2 separate regions of the Homo sapiens genome follow, and region 1 is linked to region 2. The links are contacts of gene promoters, found by promoter capture Hi-C in blood cells and fetal thymus (Javierre and others, 2016). All regions are on one chromosome and are shown on one strand. The core of a region is centred on a gene start or on the middle of the fragment in contact, and the rest is flanking DNA. Distances in the headings are between cores, read along the strand shown. Region 1 has its middle 120 kb from the start of DIRC3-AS1. Region 2 holds the start of TNP1 (transition protein 1).

What was found. The method cuts DNA at HindIII sites, captures the fragments that hold promoters and counts their contacts. A CHiCAGO score of 5 or more calls a contact.
Region 1: a fragment that was not itself captured here is called in contact with the fragment with the promoter of TNP1 in region 2 in 1 of 17 cell types (megakaryocytes); the score reaches 6.0 in megakaryocytes.

Annotation. Positions count from the first base shown.
Region 1 is chr2:217,162,857-217,166,043 of GRCh38, reverse strand. No RefSeq gene overlaps it. Among named protein-coding and RNA genes, the nearest start is that of DIRC3-AS1, 120 kb to the left of the region's middle. The HindIII fragment of the contact is 3,492 bases long and covers 1-3,187 here.
Region 2 is chr2:216,858,224-216,861,488 of GRCh38, reverse strand. TNP1 (transition protein 1) reads left to right here and starts at 1,425. Exons shown (of 2, transcript NM_003284.4): 1 at 1,425-1,593; 2 at 1,794-2,031. The coding sequence starts at 1,455. The coding sequence ends at 1,822. It overlaps LOC124906118 (a long non-coding RNA gene), which reads left to right. Exons shown (of 3, transcript XR_007088082.1): 2 at 507-564; 3 at 1,129-1,235. The HindIII fragment of the contact is 13,346 bases long and covers 1-3,265 here.

The DNA of each region.
Region 1 (3,187 bases), core at 290-2,789, 300 kb before region 2:
CTGACATCTGACGAGGCTCATATTGGCCACAAGATTCCCTCCAGACCATGAGATTTACACTGGGCATCACCCAAGGTATTCATTCTCTCTGCTCCTGAAGTGCTCCGTACTTTACAAGGTTTCAGGAACACTAGTCTCAGGCTAATGAAAGCATACTTAAAAACTTCTCAAAAATACAGATTGAGTCTATGTAATCACCACACCATTTGAGAAAGGCAAAAATTTAGTCAATTAAGTTATATGTTAGTCTGAATAAAATCAACAAACAGATTATTTGGGTCAATGAAGAAGTATCTTACGCAATTCCAAAACAGCCAATCAAATTCACTCAGACAAATATGAATCAACACAAGGAAAAACAATCAGTCAAGAATGCTGCTTTGGATCATGAAAATCAAACCCTAAACTGAAGGCTTGAGTTTTTAACTTTTCAATAGTTATGTTTAATATTGTATAGAAGATGACTCCTTTGTTATCATAACTGTGCATGGGATATACTTTTTCCCTAAAGATGATAGACAGATAGAGAAATTGATAGACAGACAGACAGACAGAATAATTCAGATTGAGTGTCATATAAATGACTTACCTAATTGGTTAAACCAGAGGTTCTTGCTGCAGCAGGAAAGATAGGAGAAGGTCATTTTTCTGAGGCAAGGTTTAGCTCTTTGGAGACAATGAACACCTGGGTGGTTTCCTACAGAGCCAGTTGAAATCATTAAGAAAGATGGTCTTTTCTTTCTAGTTTCTTATTAATTTACCTACATTCTGAGTTCTGGATCCATGACCTGCATTTGTTTTTAAATTTTCTTTTTAAAAATAAAATATATATTATATATTCATGAGGTATAAAGTGATTCTCTCTCTCTCTCTCGATGGGATCTCACTATGTTGCCCAGGCTGAACTTTCATTTCTGGGCTCAAGCAATCCTCCTGCTTCAGCCTCCTGAGTAATTGGGAATACAGGAGTGCACCACTGCACCCAGCTTGAAATGTGATGTTTTGATATATGTTTACATTGCATGGCCTCTGTTATTGTACTATGTCAGAACCTTTCTAACTTTGATCATTTTACTTCCATTATCCTTGTCACGTTTGACCCAGCCATTGCTCTGAGACTCTGTCCTTCCCTCGTGGAACAATGAGAGCTCTCACCTTTTGGTTCTGATTCCATCCCAACCCTTCTCCCCAGGAGTCTTGCTTTTTCTGGAATTGATCTATTTATAACATTGCCTCAGTTTTTAGGTTCTTCTCAGTGTCAGCTATGTTGAGTCTGTTAAAGATATCTTGGCTATTTGACTTGGTTTTCATCAAGTTCCTTGGCTTCTACCTTTTAAATGACATTTTTTTTTCACATAATTGTTATTTTTCTGGGCTCTGGCCACTGATTTCTCCATATTCTCTATTTCTTGACTCTTTCATTAGCTTAACAGCATAACTTCCATCTTCACTCCCCCAGTTCTGTTTTCAGAGATCTACTTTTAATGGCTAAGCCCAGCCCAAATTGACAGTGTCCATCCTCTTTGCAAGCCTTGGGCCCTCCCTCACTACCCCCAGCACAGACTTCATCTTCTAGGACAGTCCCCAGTGCTACAGGGGAGGTGAGTTCAAGAGAAAGTGCCCCAGGATCTTCTTAGCATTATTTTCCCCACAGTGGGACTTTGAAGCTGCCTTTCTAGCCTGCCTTCCAGCTGTTAGCAAACACACACTTTTTAAAATTAGGAAATGAACATGATAGTTCTACTCCCAGCCAGGAGCTCATCTAGTATGCTCCAGGAAAAGGATGATTAATGGAGCTAAGGCTTTATGTCTAAGCCAGGGGATGGCAGCTTGTGGGGAATAACTGAGCCACACCAGCCCGCCACAGCCTCAGATCAGGTGAACTGCACATGGCGTTAGGCCCACTGGAGGCCCTTAAAGTTAGCCAGTGGCCTGGCAGAAAGTGCACACACAATAAGTGCCTGGTGGACACACATGGCCCAAAGGAACGGGGCAGTTTTTCAATTCTTCGGTTTATATAGAGAACCAACCTACACAACCTTGGCCTTCAGAATCTTGCCAGCAGTTAGAGTATCCAGACTGGCTGTCCAGACCACCTAAATTACATGGATAAAAGCAAAAGATTTCCTTCACTGAATACCACGTGGACTTGTTTCCAAGTCCTTTTTGGGTTTGAGGCCTTACTTGTAATCATCCCTCACAAGAGGGGGGAAAAATAAAAGAAAGAAAAATGTAGGGAATTTGAGTTCTACTTCACCAAGGGCTTAGGATGGAGAATAGGAAAGTTCTGCAGGATCTTGGCTGAGCAGTGGTTTTCTGCTTCTTTAAACGTCAAAATTAACCTGATTGAGTGAACTATTCAAAAAGCACATCCATCAATTTTTGTTTCATCTGAGGTTTGGAGTGCCAAGGACTTACAACATAAGGCCTCAGACCACTCTGGTTTAATGCCAGGGGATACTTAGGGGTTCCTGGGGATGGTAATTATGATCATAACCCTCTGCCTGCCAAACTCCTATGCACTACACCCAACCCAGATGCTACTCTTCCTGTGAGATCTTACCCAGATCCTCTCTGGTTCCTCTGTGGTCCTCTAACACTTGGTGTGGCTTCTTTGGCTTAACTGGACAAGTCACCACGTTAATTCATTTATTTTCCTTCATTAAAAAAATTGTTCACCCATGACCTCTGCAAAAATAAATAAATAAAATAGAAAGAAATGCGTAAAAACAAAACCTACCCTTTACTCTCTCCTCTCAGAAGAGAGAACCACCGTTTGTAATCAGCACAAGGAAAGTGGGAACACTAAAGAAATCACTATAAGATAGCAGCTGCCCTCAAAACTAAAACCAGTCACTTTAAAATACATGCTCCCGTGTGATCCCTGGATGAGGTTCTTTTCTCTTTAGTAAAACGGAGATTTTCAGGATTCAACCCGGAGAGGTAAAATCACTGAGCTTATAAATGAGGAAACTGGAATCAAAGACCTGAATTTTTGTCTTTTCCTTTTTCCCACCATGTTGTGTCCCAGTGTGCCCCAGCATCCTTAGAGACAAAGGCCTGGAGGAAGCACAAAGAGACTTCTATTTTCATCTTTTGGTTCTAGCAAGATGAGGATCAGCAGGCAGGCAGACACACTTGGGAATAATGGCTCTGCTCTCTCAACCGAGCCCCCGCCCCAGTGCCT
Region 2 (3,265 bases), core at 176-2,675:
AAGCATTTACTATGAGGTGTAATGGAGGAAAAAGGAAAGGCTGGATGACTTATACACCAATAATCATTCAATATATCTATTTGTAAGTGTCAAAGGCACTTCAAAGCTGGTATGTCTTATACCAAGTACATGATCATCACTCTCCCCATGTCTGGCCTTTATCCCCATGAATGGCACCAGCATCCAGATAACTGCATTATACAGAAACAAAAGCCACACCCTTGACACCATCTGCTTTCACCTCCCAAATTCAATCCGTCACCAAGCCTTGGTCTCTTGTCTACTTTAGATCTCAATCAACACCTTTCCTGGCCAGACCTAAACCATCATCAAATCTTTCTCTCTGCTGAACCATTGATGTTGACAGTAGCATCTCCCTTTACACAGCTCCTCCAGTCAATACATCACCCACTTGGCACCCTCTAATCTCACATGCCATCCTCTTAACATTTTTAAAGGCTTCCCAATGTACTTGATCATGGTTTGATCTCTGTCTCTCCCTCCAGCCTCATCCTGTACCATGTAGGGAGTTTCCCTCTGCCCTTCTCCAGCCAAAATGACTCCGTAAGTACTTACTCACTGATTTATGTAGACATCTGATGAATGGCTTTCTCCCCAGTGGGCTGAGAGTTCCATGAGCACAGTATCTACGTGTGTTTATCCTCCACTAATTTTCTACCACCTAAATGTATGGCATATGCTATGTGATCAATATCTGTGACTGAATTTTAAAAAATGATTAGGTTAATTGTTCTGAACCAGAGCCATTTTTTCCCTCACTTCCCCAGCCTCCCAAAGAAACAGGTGGCAATGTTTGGGAATATTTTGGGTTGTCATAGCTGCCAGGCTTCTCTGGTGTCCAGTGGGTAATGGCCAGGGATGTTGCCAAACATCCTAGGGTGCACAAGACAGCCCACTGAAAGTTACCCTGCCCATTGTGTCAACAGTGCCAAGACTGAGAAATCCTGACCTAGATGAAAAAGAAGGAATATTTCTATTTTGATCATATTGAATTGGGTTCTGTAGAGTCAAGTCCTTACAGAAATAAATTTATTATCTCTGGATGCTGTGAGAGACTTAAACAGTCATGCATACACACACACTCAATGACTGTTACATTTCCTACAGGCAGGAGAAGCATATCTGAATGGTCTCTTGTACTCATCCAATGCCTGGCACAGGGCTGGGATTCAGTTTCTCAATAACACCTCTCTGGGAAAGCCTCACTTAACATAAAAAGGACCTCAAAACTGAGGGCAGCCCTTGAGCTGCACGAAAAGGACCACCTTATTTCACAAATGTGACCAAAGTGCAGCAAAGGTGAGTGACAGCACAGTAGAGCCCCGCCCACCTGCTGAGCCATGCCCCTTCCCTGTCACAATGGCCAAGGCCTTAAATACCCAGACTCCTGGCCCCCGGGCCTTGCAAAGCCCCTCATTTTGGCAGAACTTACCATGTCGACCAGCCGCAAATTAAAGAGTCATGGCATGAGGAGGAGCAAGAGCCGATCTCCTCACAAGGGAGTCAAGAGAGGTGGCAGCAAAAGAAAATACCGTAAGGGCAACCTGAAAAGTAGGAAACGGGGCGATGACGGTGAGTGAGGGATGGGGAGGAGATTGCCAAACTTAGGCACACATTGCTGCCAGGCCCTCCCTCTTGGAGGCAGCTCTCACAGGACCCTGAAATCTTGGCCTGAGATTATTTCCAATAACTAAATGCAGATTTGAGCAACAAGAGTCTTGATGGGAATGTTCTAATTCGTGTCTCTGTTGCAAACCTGTCCTTTCCCACAGCCAATCGCAATTACCGCTCCCACTTGTGAGCCCCCAGCGGGCTCTGCCCTGGTGCGCTTCACACAGCACCAAGCAGCAACAAGAACAGCAGAAGGGGAACTGCCAAGGAGACCTGATGTTAGATCAAAGCCAGAGAGGAGCCTATGGAATGTGGATCAAATGCCAGTTGTGACGAAATGAGGAATGTATATGTTGGCTGTTTTTCCCCAACATCTCAATAAAACTTTGAAAGCAGAAATGTTTACTTTGATCTTTTGGTTGGAAAGACTTGAGTTCCTGAGCTAGGTGGGTTTGGGGAAGAATTGGCCAGTATGAAACCATTAAATGTGACTTGGAAAATATCAAAAGTAATTTGTCCTCCAATTCCCTCCCACCACCGTGGGAGGTGGTCCTACTCTGGCCACACACTATTGCCGTATTTGTCTTCATCCCAGTGTGCTGTCTCTCTCCTCAACATGGAAAGGGAGAAGAGATAAAAAAGGGAGAAATGCATTCATTAGCATTAACCAAAGGATTCAAGCTGTTTTTGTTAGAGCTTAAACCAAAGGATGCAAGCTGTTTTCGTCAGAGCTTATAGCATAGAGGTGTTGAAAGCTAAACTAAATCTAAAGACTTGGCCCGGAGATAGAGATCACCTGGAGGAGCTCTTAGAAGCTCTTAATTCATTGATCATATGGGCAGTATTAGCAGGCTAAGAGATGGGAACACCTTCTGAACAGAGACCAACATGTTCTTTGTAAAGGATCCTATTGGTAACAGTGGAAGTGATGAGAGTTTAGATTTCTTTAGGTTATTTTGGTAGCTATGTTGGGCTTGAGGTGGGCAAGACTGAAGAGTGGGATATTGCCTCGTAGCATGCCATAAGCCTTAGTCCAGTGTGCCTAGAAGTAGGAATTGTCTCAATCTGAGTATTGATCATTTGACAGAGAGAGAGAGAGAGAACTGACTTTAGGGATAGAGCTGGTTCTGCTCATTTAGGAAATTCCTAAGCCCTCACTTTACCTTGTCCCTGAGTTGTAACACAATTTATGATGTCTCTGGTCAAGGATATGACATTCACCCACTCAGAGGTGGATCGTATTTTTCTTGTTTCCTGTTGCCTCAGAGGTAGCTCCAGGGTAGAAATGAGACTCATATTTAAACTCAAGAACCAACCACCCACGTGGTTTCTGGGGAAGTAACCAGGAAAGGGTATAAGCAGGAAGGAATGAGGGGGCATGAGGTTAGACACGAAGTTTCCAGCAGTCAGGGGTGTGAGACATGGGAAGAGGACACTATTAAGTCTGAGCCTCATGCAAATGTGTGGGTACCAGGATGTTGGTCCTATAAGGGGTGGCAAGGGGTGTTCCTGTGGGTCAGAATCTAGAAATGCAATAAAAAAAAGCATGTTCATTTTTCAGATAAGTTATTTCACTTGTTGGGGTAAAATATTTCAAGTCCTCACTCTTCCATAACCCTAAGAATGAGCATGC